Linked DNA regions of Homo sapiens: region 2 is linked to region 1. The links are contacts of gene promoters, found by promoter capture Hi-C in blood cells and fetal thymus (Javierre and others, 2016). All regions are on one chromosome and are shown on one strand. Each heading gives the region's core, a stretch centred on a gene start or on the middle of the fragment in contact. The rest is flanking DNA. Distances are from core to core; before and after follow the strand shown. Region 1 holds the start of C7orf25 (chromosome 7 open reading frame 25). Region 2 holds the start of UPP1 (uridine phosphorylase 1).

Evidence for each region. Contacts are between HindIII fragments. The CHiCAGO score rates a contact against its expected background, and 5 or more counts as called.
Region 2: the fragment with the promoter of UPP1 here is called in contact with the fragment with the promoter of C7orf25 in region 1 in 2 of 17 cell types (non-activated CD4 T cells and activated CD4 T cells); the score reaches 10.5 in non-activated CD4 T cells.

What each region holds. Positions count from the first base shown.
Region 1 is chr7:42,908,838-42,915,679 of GRCh38, forward strand. It overlaps C7orf25 (chromosome 7 open reading frame 25), which reads right to left and starts at 3,233. Exons shown (of 2, transcript NM_001099858.2): 1 at 3,078-3,233; 2 at 436-2,084. The coding sequence starts at 2,063. The coding sequence ends at 798. RefSeq lists enhancers at 2,062-2,759, 2,760-3,456, 4,976-5,035 and a silencer at 2,805-3,064. The HindIII fragment of the contact is 2,903 bases long and covers 610-3,512 here.
Region 2 is chr7:48,087,703-48,094,448 of GRCh38, forward strand. UPP1 (uridine phosphorylase 1) reads left to right here and starts at 1,563. Exons shown (of 9, transcript NM_003364.4): 1 at 1,563-1,716; 2 at 2,486-2,662. RefSeq lists enhancers at 566-1,095, 908-1,117, 1,628-2,157 and silencers at 1,258-1,597, 1,938-2,127. The HindIII fragment of the contact is 3,480 bases long and covers 1-3,042 here.

The DNA of each region.
Region 1 (6,842 bases), core at 1,983-4,482:
TCACCATCTCATGAAAGTAAGGTAATGCAGTTGTCACTTGCCACTTGCAAATGAAACATGAAAATAGTATTTATTGTTCAAATACTTATAATATGGGGGCTTTCTGTATTGAATTTTTAAAATCTTTTACATAATCCTTTTTCAATTCATTCAAATTAGTATTTTACCTTAAGTGTCCTGGTTTTATCTTATAGTAGTAAGATTGTTGGCTTTCTTTTCACAAAGGTCTACCAATGGGTTCATGGCACTCAAATAACCATAATTCACTTTCTCATTTCTTCTGTATTATGTACTTTTTGTAAAAACACCTATCAGACTGCACCTGACATACAGCAAATAAGTTTTTCATTAATGGTTAACCTTAGAATCTAAAATTGATTACCAACGACTACCTCCCAGCCTAAACCATATAAAGCAATACAATGAAAAACAGGCTTGAATTTTCTCCAGATATTTAATGCAAGATGCAATGTAGCCATATTCCATGAAATGTGGTTAGCAGTAGGGGAGTTGTAGCCCTATCGAATCAAAGTATTACAATACAGCTGAAAGCTTTATATAGACGTATTTCGGTTCTTAATTGCACTAATGCAGACAGTTTGATAGATAAGCTTCTCTCTTGTGCTTTTTCTACTTTGGGAGGTTATATACTTTAGATGAGAGACAAAGAAACTCTACTGGTTTAAGAGTTCTCAGTTTTACTTTTACTATAGACCTTTTTTCCCACCAGTTTAGATGGGAAGACCCAGCCTTTGGTATAAATAACTTACTTCCACAAAAATATTTAAAGGGTATCTTTAGTGTTCACTGTCAGTTGTGTAGTCTTTTGGTAAGGGGGTGGCTAGAGCCTCTTTACTCTCAGTAAGTGCTCTGGGCTGATGGATAAACACACTAAATTTAACACCCTGGTTGTTTGCAGCTCTGACAAAACCACTATTAGCAGTCATTGTGATGGCTTTTAGGGTGTCTCCCGTCCCAAAAATTGTTAATGAGCGGCTATTAATTTTTGAACTGGCCACTAGTCTCAAGGCACGCTCAGAAGGCTGGTCTGGTACCACATTAATTCGCTTAATTAACACAGTGGCCCTCTCTCTCTCCCCAGGTCCTCCTAAGGTATCTAAAATAGACTGAAAGTCCTTGACAGCAGATTCACAAGCAAACAACTCCTTGTCCTTCATAAAGGCCTCCAGCTGAGGTAGAACCTGCTCTTTCCTCTCTTGCTCTGCTTGTTCTGTGAGCACTTTCTCTTTGAAAATAAAGTGGCAGCCTCCATAGCTGAGGGCAGATACATATGTGATTAAAGTAGTAATGTCCAGATTTACTCTTTTGCACACATCGACCTTAATTTCTGTTGGAAACGCAACACTTGCTAGTATATTTTCTCGGTCAACTCTGGTCACCTGCAAAAGTTCAGGGCCCTCATCATCTGATTCACTCTCACTTGGTTGAAGCTCTTCAGGGTGATCTAACAGAGCGTTGACTGCTACTATGTCTCCTCTCACAGATATGCCCATTTCTTTCAGCTTCTCTGCCATGGGGCTGGAGACACTGTTGTAAAATGCAAAGATGATGTGAGGGTTGCTATACTGCACTGGCTGCTGGTGACTGGCCTGGAGGAAGTCTTCAGCCTGCTCAATGATGCTTTTGTCACCATATTGGCCCCTGCCCAGCCAGATGTTATGAAGAGCTTCAGCCTTCCGGCCAATGGCTTTCACCCAAGTATGACCACCATTTGCAACTACATCTACCACAAGGGTTTGCTTTTCTCCTAAGGTATCTGTATAACCAAAGACATGAAGAACACTAACAACTTCTTCCAGGTTTTCTGCTGATTCCACAATGGCTCTCAGGTGTGTTAGGTTAGTGCTCTGTAAATGAGACTCTTTAATAGCTACTTTCCCAGCTTCTACTTTCTGCAAGAATTTTAATTCTGCCTTCAATTTGCTGCACAGCTTTGCACCACCTTCTATGCCACCTTTTCTTGATCTAGAAAGTGATTCTGCTCTCTTGATCAGTTCCTTGGCTATGGCGATTCGTTCACAGAGCATGGAATGTGCAGACATGCTGTCAGCATTATTCCTTTCCTAGGGAAAGAAACAAGGCAAACTTCAGTAGTCTCCTAAAATTATGACAATCAATTCTTCACTGGTGATTAAAAACTTCAATCTAGCAACACAGCTTATGGAGGGTGAGTCTATGAACCCGGGCTTGTGTATGTCTCATTCTGGAGTGACTGCTTCCTCTGATAGCTAAGGAAAGGATGGCAGCTACACTTTTGAACTCTTCTTTAGGTACGTCTGACACACTTTAGACCTTCATTTCTTCAGCTTGAAAGCCATGGGGACACAGCATGGTCCTAGGTTAGGATACAATGCAAGAGTTGGGCAATCTGCTATATAAATAATTCCCTTATGTCTATCAGCGGCCTGTTTAACTGCTGAGAAATTTTAATAAAGGCGACAAAAATGCCGAAAACAAAAATACACACAGACTGGCTAGTTAGCAAACTGTCCAAAGCAAGTGTCTGTCCTAAACTGAGCACTTCAGCCTCCCTAACCTTTTCCTCCTTCCCGAGTTGGTCTCCTTCAACCGGCTGCCTCATGATTTCCCCCGAGGCTTGGGGTACTTACGCCAAAAAAAATCAACACTGCCTCATTTCTGCATTTGACGTCAACCCAGACTATTTTAAAAGACCGAAGAAGACCACCAACTTGCGTCCCACTCCCACTCCGACTCTGAAGGAAAATCCGAAGATGAAACTAAACTCCAAGGCTGCAACCCGCGGCGGCCGTGCAAGCGGCCCCAGCGCAGGTCGCCGGGTGGGCGGGCCAGAGGCCGGCGGGGCCTTCTCGGTGGGCTGCGGGGCCCTCGGCCCTGCCCGGCCACCTGCACAGCCGGGCCCTGCCAGGAGGGGCCGGGGCCGAAAAGCCCCCACCGCCAGCGCCGCGGCTCAGGGACCAGGCGCTGATAGCGCGCGGCCGACCCCCTTCCCGCCGGGCCGGCCCTGCCCAGCCCCCTCTGGCCTCAGAAGAGGCGCCCCGCTCCCAGCCTCCCCGCCTCGCTCCCCGGCTCCTCACCGGCAGCGCCAGAACCGCGAGCGCGAGCACGCAGGCGCGTGCACGCAGAGGCCGGGACCCGCCGGGAAATCTCAACCGGGCAGCCCCCACCCCGCTCGAACGCCGAGGCGGCTCCACCCGCGCGAGCCCCGCCGCCTCGGGCACCTCCTGCATCACGTGGTTCCGGGCCGGGTGACGCCAAACCTGCGATTCCCAAGCGGCAGCGCGGCCTCCCGAGCCGGGTTGACGCTGGCGTGGCGGCCATGTTTATTGAGGGCACCTGGCTTCTCCCGCTTGCGCCGCCGGGTGAGCCTGAAGGCGCGCACCCACCTGGCTCCAGGAAGAGGGACCGAGCTCGCGTGCTGGGCCTCACTCCCACTGGGGGCGTCGGCCACTCGATCGCAACCGGGTCGTAGGCATTTTGGGGGCTCATTTTAACAGAAGAAACGCTGGAGAAGCTTGTCAGAGGTGACAGCTGAGAAGTACTGCCTCTGGGACTTCTGCCTCCAAGCCAAAGCACTTTCCACTGCATTGTCCTGGGCCCTCCAAAGAAAGTGTGCTGTCCTTCTGAAGAGAAGAAATGATTGCATGGCTTCCGAGGGGCTGCCATATTCATATTACTGTAGTAGAGTGTCCAGAGTCACCCAGAAAGATTAGGGCTGTAAGAAAGTAAAGCTAATTTAAAATATTAAAGAGGACTTCCAGTTATAATTAATCCTGTGTATCCTGCTCCTTCTCCAAACTTAACAGTAAAGCAATGCTCCTTCTCCAAATAACAGTAAAGCAATGACAAAGGGAACAAACAAAGGCAAAAAGAACAAGAGAAGAGATGACTGCAGACCGGTTATACCAACACATTTTTGGAGGACAAGAGCAATAACTTATTCAGTCCTTACAGCGTGACAGACATTGTTCTAAGTGTTTTACACATTGTTCACTCCTTTAAACAACCTAAAAGGTAGAGATATTAAGTATGCTTTACAGATAAGTGAGCCATAGGGAGGTTACCTGAACCCAAGCACCCTCTTTGCAGATGGTGTCAGGAGAACTGAGCAAACTGCTTGTAGAAGGGGATATTTAGCCACTGATTCACAAAGCAGAACCCCAGAAAGCTTCAGGTGCCTTGAAGGTAGAAGGGAGGGCAGTAAATTGTTCAGGCAGAAGACTAGTTTAAGATGCTAAAGACAGGGCATCAGAGGGATTCCAGACACAAAGCCTAACAAAGGATGAGAGGTGCCATGATGTTTTCCTACTGAATAGTGCAATGCTAGCAGCCCCCTTCTCTGCCCCTCCCATAATGCAGGCACCCCTCTACCGCTCCCTACCACTATCTCCCCATAACCCTATTTTTCTCTGAAGAAATGAGTAGACAAAAGACCCTAGAGAAATGGCTCGGCAATACCAACATTCAGCATCCCCTAGTGTGAGCCTCACGAACACAGCATTTCCCAACGTTTTTGTTATTTGAAGGAAATGGAAAACAGAACAAAATGGTCTCAAAAAGTATTCTATAACTAGCATCTTCAAATAAAAGATATTTCAGCTATGAAACAAGAGGATTTCTTTTTTTAAGGAGACAGCAGAGCACAGGAAATGGTTCTTCTGTAGTAAAAATCATATCCCAAATTTCAAAACATCAATGAGTTGGAAAAATTTAGAAAGTAGAAATAGATGAAAAATGGAGCAAAAACAAAAGGATCCAGTATCCAATTAACAGGAGTTTAGAAACAAAAACAAAATGAAGAGAAAATTTTTCAAAAACTTAATAGAAAATTTAGCAAACAGAAACGTTTTTCACAGTGCAAGGGCCCACTGAGTGCTCACCACAATGACTATTAAGAAACCCACACAAAGGAACATGGTTGTGAAGTTTCAGAACACAGCAGATAAGAGAAAAACCAAGAGCTGCAGAGGGGAAAACTTACAAAGGACTTGGCATCACATACGCAATAGTATTAGGCTTCCTATCAGCAACACTGGAATTTAGAAGGGAGTAATGCTTTCAAAATGTGGAGATAATTTATTTCTTAGAGTTTTTAAACCCAGCCAATTCAGAGAGAAAGCAAGGAGAATAAAGATAGTTTCAAACAAGCACCTAGCCTGGATTGGAACAGGAAGACAGAGGGTTCTAAGAGAAACTTCTCTGAGGTGTGGGGAAGAGAACTGATACAGAGTGCCTGATATCTGACTGATGAGGAAAATATTAAGCAGAGGGTGTTAAATTTCTGTTGGGGGAATCTGGCAAGGATTGGTGACAGCTACGCAGAAAACAAAGTAACCAAGTGGGCTGGGCGCCGCCATGGCTTATTTGTAATCCCAACACTTTGTGAGTCCAGGGCGGGAGAATCACTTGAGCACAGGAGTTCAAATCCAGCCTGGACAATGTAGTGAGATCCCTGTCTCCACAAAAAGTAAAAAAACTAGCTGGCCATGGTGGCTGACATCTGTATTCACACCTACTGCAATGGCTGGGGTGGGAGGATCGTTTGACCCCACGTCAAGGCTACAGTGAACTGATTTGTGCCACCTCACTCCAGCCTGGGTGACAGAGTGAGACTGTCTCAAAAAAAAAAAAAAAAGAAAAAAAAGCGGTTATCACTGCCAGGAAAGTTGTTCCGGAAATGTAAATTGTAGTACACTTAGTCATAAGAAAAATCTTCAACATGATTTAATTGAGGTAGGGAGAAGGAAGTCAGTGTGATATGAGGATTCTAAATTCTCATCTTGCACAATGGGAAGTCTGGCAGCTCAACTCCGGGAATCCAAGAAAAAGGCATATAATCCTACTATTTTGAAATACGGAGGCAAGTACCTCATGAAACACCTAAAAAAGTCAAAAGTGATGGCTTTCAGGGAGTAGCACTCACATTTTACTTAACTTTTTAAATATGCTCATGCTTAGGAAGTTATCAGATAATTGGCAGCCAGATATTGCTAGTTTCATAAGTTTCTTGAGAACAGGGTGGAGGGAGGAGCTCTAAATTGAAGGAACTGTGTGAAGCAATGTGACTTTCATACAGAACCACCAGGACTGGTTTTCAGGAAATCAGGATTCTAATCCAAGGGAACTCTCAACTCCTATATGTTCTTGGGCAATTCGCTGAACATCAACTTGCTCTTCTTTGCAATGGGGGGCTCAGAGAGCTTGCCTACATGGGTGAGTAGACTCCTGAAAAAAAGGTGAGGTAAGTACTAAGAGTTGGCAGTTTCATTCTATGAAGAAAACTGAGCAATAGATGAAAACCCTTCAATGTTCACTTATCACCTACTTGATGCCTGAGAGACTGTGCAAGGTAATTATCTCAAGGTTGGGTTTTTTTTTTTTTCCTTCAGGGATGCTTGAGTGTTATCAGCACTTGATAATTATAAGGCTCTGTATTAGTATTCTTTATTGCCTGTGTATGTGAATTTTAAGCATCTCCATGTTTCACTGCTATTAATTGCTTTGCAAATTTAAATTCATGGTTCAGTAGAACTGGGAGGAAGTAGAACAAATGGAGTTAAAATGTTTTAAGGGTTAGAAGATACAAAATGAACCAAAAGGCAGAGGCTCTGAACATTAGAAACATTATGATACTTAAGCTAAAATCCACAGGCTGGAAATGGTTCAAGAGTTTTGGAATGTTTAGGAATGCAGTGGGTTGCTACATCAAAGAACTCTAAGAACTGGGACAAAAAGGAACAACTTAATTTTAAGGCCCGTGGAAAGAATAAACAGAACAAAGGGAGAAGTGTTGTAGGCAGCTTGAACTGGAACTGGGCTTTGCATTTAATGGGGGCAGGAGG
Region 2 (6,746 bases), core at 313-2,812, 5.2 Mb after region 1:
TTTTTGAGATGGCGTCTCACTGTGTCACCAAGGCTGGAATGCAGTGGCATGATCTCAGCTCACTGCAACCTCTGCCACCCAGGTTCAAGTGGTTCTCCTGCCTCAGCCTCCCAAGTAGCTGGAATTACAGGCACCTGCCACTGTGACCGGCTAGGTTTTTTTTTTTGTTTTTTTTTTTTTTTTACTTTTAGTAGAGACGGGGTTTCACCATCTTGGTTAGGCTGGTCTTGAACTCCTGACTTTGTAATCCACCCGCCTCGGCCTCCCAAAGTGCTGGGATTACAGGTGTGAGCCACTGCGCCTGGCCGTACTTTCATTTTCAATAAAACCCTTAATTCCTTCCTTGATTTGTTTGTGTGTTTCACTCTTGTCACCCAGTATGGAGTGCAATGGCGCGATCTCGGCTCACTGCATCCTTCGCTGGGTTCAAGCAATTCTCCTGCCTCGGCCTGCCTAGTACCTGGGATTACAGGCACGCGACACCACGTCCAGCTAATTTTTTGTATTTTTAGTAGTGACGGGGTTTCACCATGTTGGGCAGGCTGGTCTCGAACTCCTGACCTCAGGTGATCCATCCGCCTCGGCCTTCCAAAGTGCTGGGATTACAGGCGTGAGCCACCACTCCCGGCCCAACCCCATGTTTTCTCAGGAACTGGAGTTCCCTTTAGGAAGCAAGTAACAGAGGTGCTGGGCTGCCCGGGCCTCTAGGTCGTCTTCTTTCCCAGGCTCTGTGCTCTCACCAGAGTGCGCGTTCGGGAAGCAGGGAGAGGACCAGGAAAGACGCCTGAGACGGAGAGTGGGCACCGGCCGGGGGCAGGCAGGTCCGGCCCCTGGGGGTCAGAGTGCAGCGCCGGTTTGAGGCAGTTCGGCCACTTAGCTGCGACTCGAAGTGAATGAGTCACTTCCCCTCCTCGGGCGAGCTCCTGGCTTTGCCCCAGCAAGCGGGAACTCCCAGGATCAGGAAGGTCCCAGAGAAACTCCCCAGGGGGGAAGCCGAGGCCGTCCAGAGAGATCCAGGGTACACACAGTGACAGTGCCAGCTCCACATTCCCGACCACCGGGCCAGGGCTGGTTCCACGCTGTCATTTCTCTCCGCTGGCCCCAGCCGCGGGGCCACCGCCAGACAGACAGACCGGGGATCCTGCCTGGCGGCGTGACCTTGGGTTAGTCCTAGAGCCGCTTCTAGCCCGGTTTCCTCCGCCCCAGGTTAGGACCACGTGGGTAAGAAGATTTCCTCTGTAGTAGGGGCTGTTTAATGAGTAACAGAACTGGCTGCTGGTTCTTTACAATTGCCCAGCTGCTCTGCAGAGGCGAGAAGCAATTGCGGGCTGAGCCTCCCGGGACCTTCGCGGGAGGGTGGAGAGGAGGAAGGCGGGGGAGGCGGGGCCAGAGGGGCAGAGGAAGGTGGGGGCGGGCGGGGCTTGTCTGCGGGATGGCCCAGGATGCGGTCAGCTGAGTTCGCCGGCCCAGGGCAGGCGGGGCCCGAGCCTAGCGGTAACCCCCGGGCAGGGCGGGGCCGCTCGCAGACTCCATATGAGATTCACCTCGCAGGTGGTTCCCTCATTCGAGTGCTCCGGCGCACAGACCCGCGCCCCGCCGTCTGCGAGCCTCCCGAGAGCCGTCCCTTCGTCCGGCCCTGGAGCATTGCGTTTGTCGCCGGTGTCGCAGTGCGAGGATGGCGCCGCGGGTGTAGCGGCTCTCTGCGCAGGCCGAGTGGTGAGTCGCCCGCGGCCCGGCTCCCGCCGTTCTCTCTTCCCAGGGGTCTAGCCCGTCCCCTGCCTTGGCCACGTGCCCATTTACCTGTAGGGGCGGTGACGGAGGCTCTGGTGCACCTTGGCTGTGAGCTGCAGAGGAGCAGAGAGCGGCCCGGCGCGGCTGCGCGGGGAGGCGGGCGCGCGGCCGGGAGGTTCTGGGGCTGGTGTGTGCGGAGCGAGGTGGGCGTGGGGGAAGCGCGCGGGCGGGATGTGCTTCCTCGGGTCCACCCCGTGCCTACCTCTCCCACGTCCCGGCGACGGAGCGCGCGGGGCTCTGGGCGGGGAGCCCACCGGGCCGAGGCGCAGCGAGGGTGAAGCCAGAGCCGGCAGGGTCAGGTCCCGCAGGGCGCAGGCGGGCGCTTCTCGCAGCCCAAACCCGGGCGGGGAGTGCGGGAACCCCTAGAACTATGCTGGGAGCCCCAGATAAGAGGAAGGAGATGGTGACTTAAGTGACGAAGTGATGTTTTGTCCCCACCGCCTTTTAAAGGGAGAAGGGGGTAAAATTTCATTTGGAGGATGATTGTTACGCGAGCTTTCAGAGTTCAGATGGCGTCAAGTGGCCATCGAGTCAACATTTAACAAAATGTTACCGCATAAAATATTGTCATCGAGTTATCTGGCAGCTCCGCAGAGAAACTTCACAGGCATATGCGTTATATGACATAATTTGCATGGGGAAGGGGGTCCCTTCACGATTCTTTTATATGGCAACCTGTTCTTGGACCTGGCAGGGCCCAGAGAAGCGAGGAACTCCGCAGCTCGTCGACACGTCTCGTCTCCTGTCCCAATTCAGGGCTTGGTGAGGTGACTCGCGGTCGCGGGTGACTCGCCGGCAGGACACTGCCTGGAACGCCTGGAGCGCCTCCCACTGCAGACGTCTGTCCGCCTCCAGCCGCTCTCCTCTGACGGTCAGTTTCAAAGAAACACAGTCTGGGATCCGGAGTAGAAAGAGGCCGTTTCCCGTGAAGGCCATAGAGGCAGTTTCCAGGCGCCTGGGTGACCTGTCTCTGCACTTCCCTCTCTGCTTCTCCATCCCTGTTTCCTTTCCCCACTGTCCCCTGCCTGGCCTTTCTTTGGCTCATTTTCTGCCTTCCTGGGGTCTTCTGGTTAAAAAGACCATTGGTTCCATTCATTGGCTGTAACCGCGGGTCTTTAAAAAACTTTGTGACTTCCTTGAATAGAAAGAATGTCTTACTCTGGATTTCTACAAGCGCTGCTGAGCCATTCCCAGGGCAGGCCTTTGTCTCTCCCGCCTTTCAGTTTGTTTGCCCATCTGCATTTTGGCCCAAGCTTTCCCCATTTCTCAGCTGCTCTTACATTATTTCTTTTTTCAGAGGCTACCCTGACCTTCTAGTCCTCTGCATTAAACCTCATCACCGCAGACCGTTTTAATTCAGCACAGGTGTATCGAGCACAAATTATATTCTTGGTTCCAATACTTTCAGCACTGGTGGGCATTCATGTTTCATTTAAGAAGGATAAATTAGTGTTTCTTTACATGGGCTTTTTGTCAAAGTGGAATTTTGTTGACTTTACTGATCTTAAAATTAACGCAAACTTATTGTAAAAACAAACAAACAAAAAAACCCAAAAACCAAAAATCAAATATATAACAGAAAATGAAACTTCTAGGTTTTCCTCTTCCCTAAAGATAAACAACAAACATTCTTCTTCCTTCTCCTCTCTCTCTCACACACATTTGCTTTTGAAATATGTTCATTCAAAAAAGTATTTTAAATGTTTACAAGCTAAGTTATTTATGCAAGTAACTTACCAATCTGATTTGAGTTTAACGGGTTAAAACTAAAAAAAAAAATCAAAAACATCTTCAGTTTTTTTTTTTTTTTAAGTAAGATGGATCTGGCTGGTAATAGGTAGAGAGCCCCAGGTGATCACCGAAAAGACTCTTCCTTGGGGAGCCAAATCCTAAGCCAGGTTTAGGATTTCCCTGGGAGGTAGAATTTGCAGCCCAGGTAAAACCAGCAAAACTCTCCTGTTATGTGGGGAGGGGAGCGAAGAGCATGGCTTTCTAGAGAGGTGAGAGAAGACTTGTTGAGAAACTGAATTTCATTTCCTTACGGAAGTTGGAGAACATTGTGGTACAATGTTAGGAGAAAGGTTTTCTAAAATCAGTGCAGTCTGACATCTTCAACACCAGGGTCTTTTCCACTGGAGCACTGCAGACATCTGCAACTTTCTCTGCCTACGTGGGTGTGGTTAAATAGACCCTCCCTGAGTGCAGGGCTGAAAAGTGGAGAGAAGTTAGTTCTTGGGACACTCACACCCAGGAGGGGGGATCCTGCAGGTACTAAGATTGCAAAGGGAAAGAGAGAGTGAGGCTGGTCCTGGAGCCCACTAGGAAGGAGCCAGCGGAAAGCAGTGACTGGACAAGGGAACTGATTTCTCTGCTGATGTGGCCTTGGTTTCTCTGGTTCAGAGTAAAGAAAAGCAACCAAACCTAGAGAGAAACATCCTTACTCTACAAGGCCAGACGGGAAGTTCTGTCTTTGGCTTGGTTTCCTTTTCTACAAACGGGGTTGGATTCTCTCTGGAGAGCTTTCCGGGGGCCACTCAGCAGTCTCTGATTCAGTGGGATGTTCTCAGCTGCTGGCCCAAGGGAGCTCACCTCTTAGCTCTTCCCCTGCCTGGTTCACTGGGGGGCTGCTCCCTCCCATTAGCTCCCTACCCCTAAAGACAAAAATAGCAGCCTGGAGGGGGCAGAGTTTTAGGGGAGGTTGTAAGAGGGCACATTCTTCAGAGGAGCCACTCTTACGGGGGAATGTTCCTGCCCCACAGAAACTGGCCCTGGGGATCAGGACTCTGCCTGACCCTAAACCCTACTTCTTCCCTCAGTCGGTAGGTCTGCTTAATGGATCCTGAAGAAGGCCTGAAATCATGACCAGACCCCTACGCCCCGGGATCCTCCTGTAGTGCCTTTTGATAAGAAGCACTGCCCTGGCTTCTCTCTCCTCCTTCCACATGTGTAGGGAGAGGTAGCTCTGCCTATTCATGAAGCTTCATCCCTACACTGTCCTTCATTTGGCCCCTGGTGAACCGGGGGCCAAGGTGTGATACCTCTTTTAAAACTCATTCCCTTCACACTGGTGTTGTGACTCATGCCTGTAATTCCAGCTACTTGGAGGCTGAGGTGGGAGGATCACGTGAGCCCAGTAATTTGAGGCGGCAGTGAGCTGTGATTGCACCACTCCACTCCAGCCTGGGTAACAGAGTGAGACCCTGTTTGTTTCTTTTTTTTTTTTTTTTGAGACAGAGTCTTGCTCTTTCACCCAGGCTGGAGTGCAGTGGCATGATCTCGACTCACTACAACCTTCATCTCCTGGGTTCCAGCGATTCTCCTGCCTCAGCCTCCCGAGTAGCTGGGATTCCAGGCATGCGCCACCACACCCAGCTACTTTTTTGCATTTTTAGTAGAGATGGAGTTTCACCATGTTGGCCAGGCTGGTCTTGAACTCCTGACCTCAAGTGATCTGGCCTCCTCGGCCTCCCAAAGTGCTGAGATTAGGGGCGTGGGCCACTGTGCATGGCCCCCTGTTTCTAAAAAAATGAAGAATAAAGTGTTGAATTAAAAAAAAAATCAACAACACCACACCTTATTCCCCTTCTTAGCTCTCCTTAGCTGGACTGCAGTAGGCTGGGATTTCCAAAGAAGTGTTGTGTAAATGCTAAGGGAGAATGAAAGCCTGGTGGAGAGATTTAAGGCAGCAATTGGAGGGAACATTTTTCTCCACACCTAACAACTGTAGTTTTCCCTGGCATTCAAAATTTGCTGGAAATGATCACTATATTATGGTAATAATAAATCCCATTCTCCAAAAAGGGACCTTTTGGGTTTTAGCTTGGTGACAAGAGACTGCTGAGTTACGAAGGTGAGAACCGTGTGGTGGAAACAACTGGCTTGACCTCAGGAAAGCAGCTTCACTTCACAGACTCCTACTGATGTCTTTATGAGCCTTGGATCATCCTGTAGACCCAGTGCTTCACTCTCTTCCTCTCAGCATGAATCCTGCCCACTCTGCAAGGCTTTCCAGGGAGTTGGGGGCCTGGCCATTACAGGGCATTTGGGGATTTGTTTCTTTATTAACTGAGTTCAAAACGTGAGTCTCACCCTCCTTCAAAGAGCTCTGGCAAAACCCTGCCCTTCTCCACACAGAGAAGTGGTCTTGGGGGTTTCTGACTACTGAGCCCTAGTAGAATAACTTCAGGTACGCCACGTTTTTCCTTCATGGGACTTTGCAGTGGAGACGGGGCCGTGGGCTGACTCAGGTCAGCCTCAGTCCCTCTCCCTCCTATGGTGGTCCCCTGTCCCCGCTGCTCCCCCTGGAGCTGATAACTTTTACCCATCTTTGACCCAATTCTTCCTGGGGAGAAGAGCATCTGAGATTCTAGAAAAGTGAGGCAGAGGCCAGGCGCAGTGGCTCACACCTGTAATCCCAGCACTTTGGGAGGCCGAGGCTGGTGGATCACCTGGGGTCAGCAGTTCGAGAACAGCCTGCCCAACATGGTGAAACCCTGTCTCTACTAAAAATACAAAAATTAGCTGAACATGGTGGCGTGTGTCTGTAGTCTCAGCTACTCGGGAGGCTGAGGCAGAAGAATTGCCTGAACCTGGGAGGCGGAGGTTGCAGTGAGCCGAGATGGCACCACTGCACTCCAGCCTGGGTGACAGAGCGAGACTGTCTCTATTAAAAAAAGGGAGGCAGAGAGGTGTGGTGTGTTGGGTCAGTGAGTCTTGACTTGCTGAGCTGGGAAATTGGGAATAAGGGACAGGTTTTTGTTTTGTTTTGTTTTGTTTTTTGAGACGGAGTGTCGCTCTGCAACCTCTGCCTCCCAGGTTCAAGCGATTGTCCTCCCTCAGCCTCCTGAGAGTAGCTGGGATTACAGGCGCCTGCCACCACACCTGGCTAATTTTTGTATTTTTAGTAGAGATGGTGTTTCACTGTATTGGACAGGCTTGTCTTGAACTCATGATCT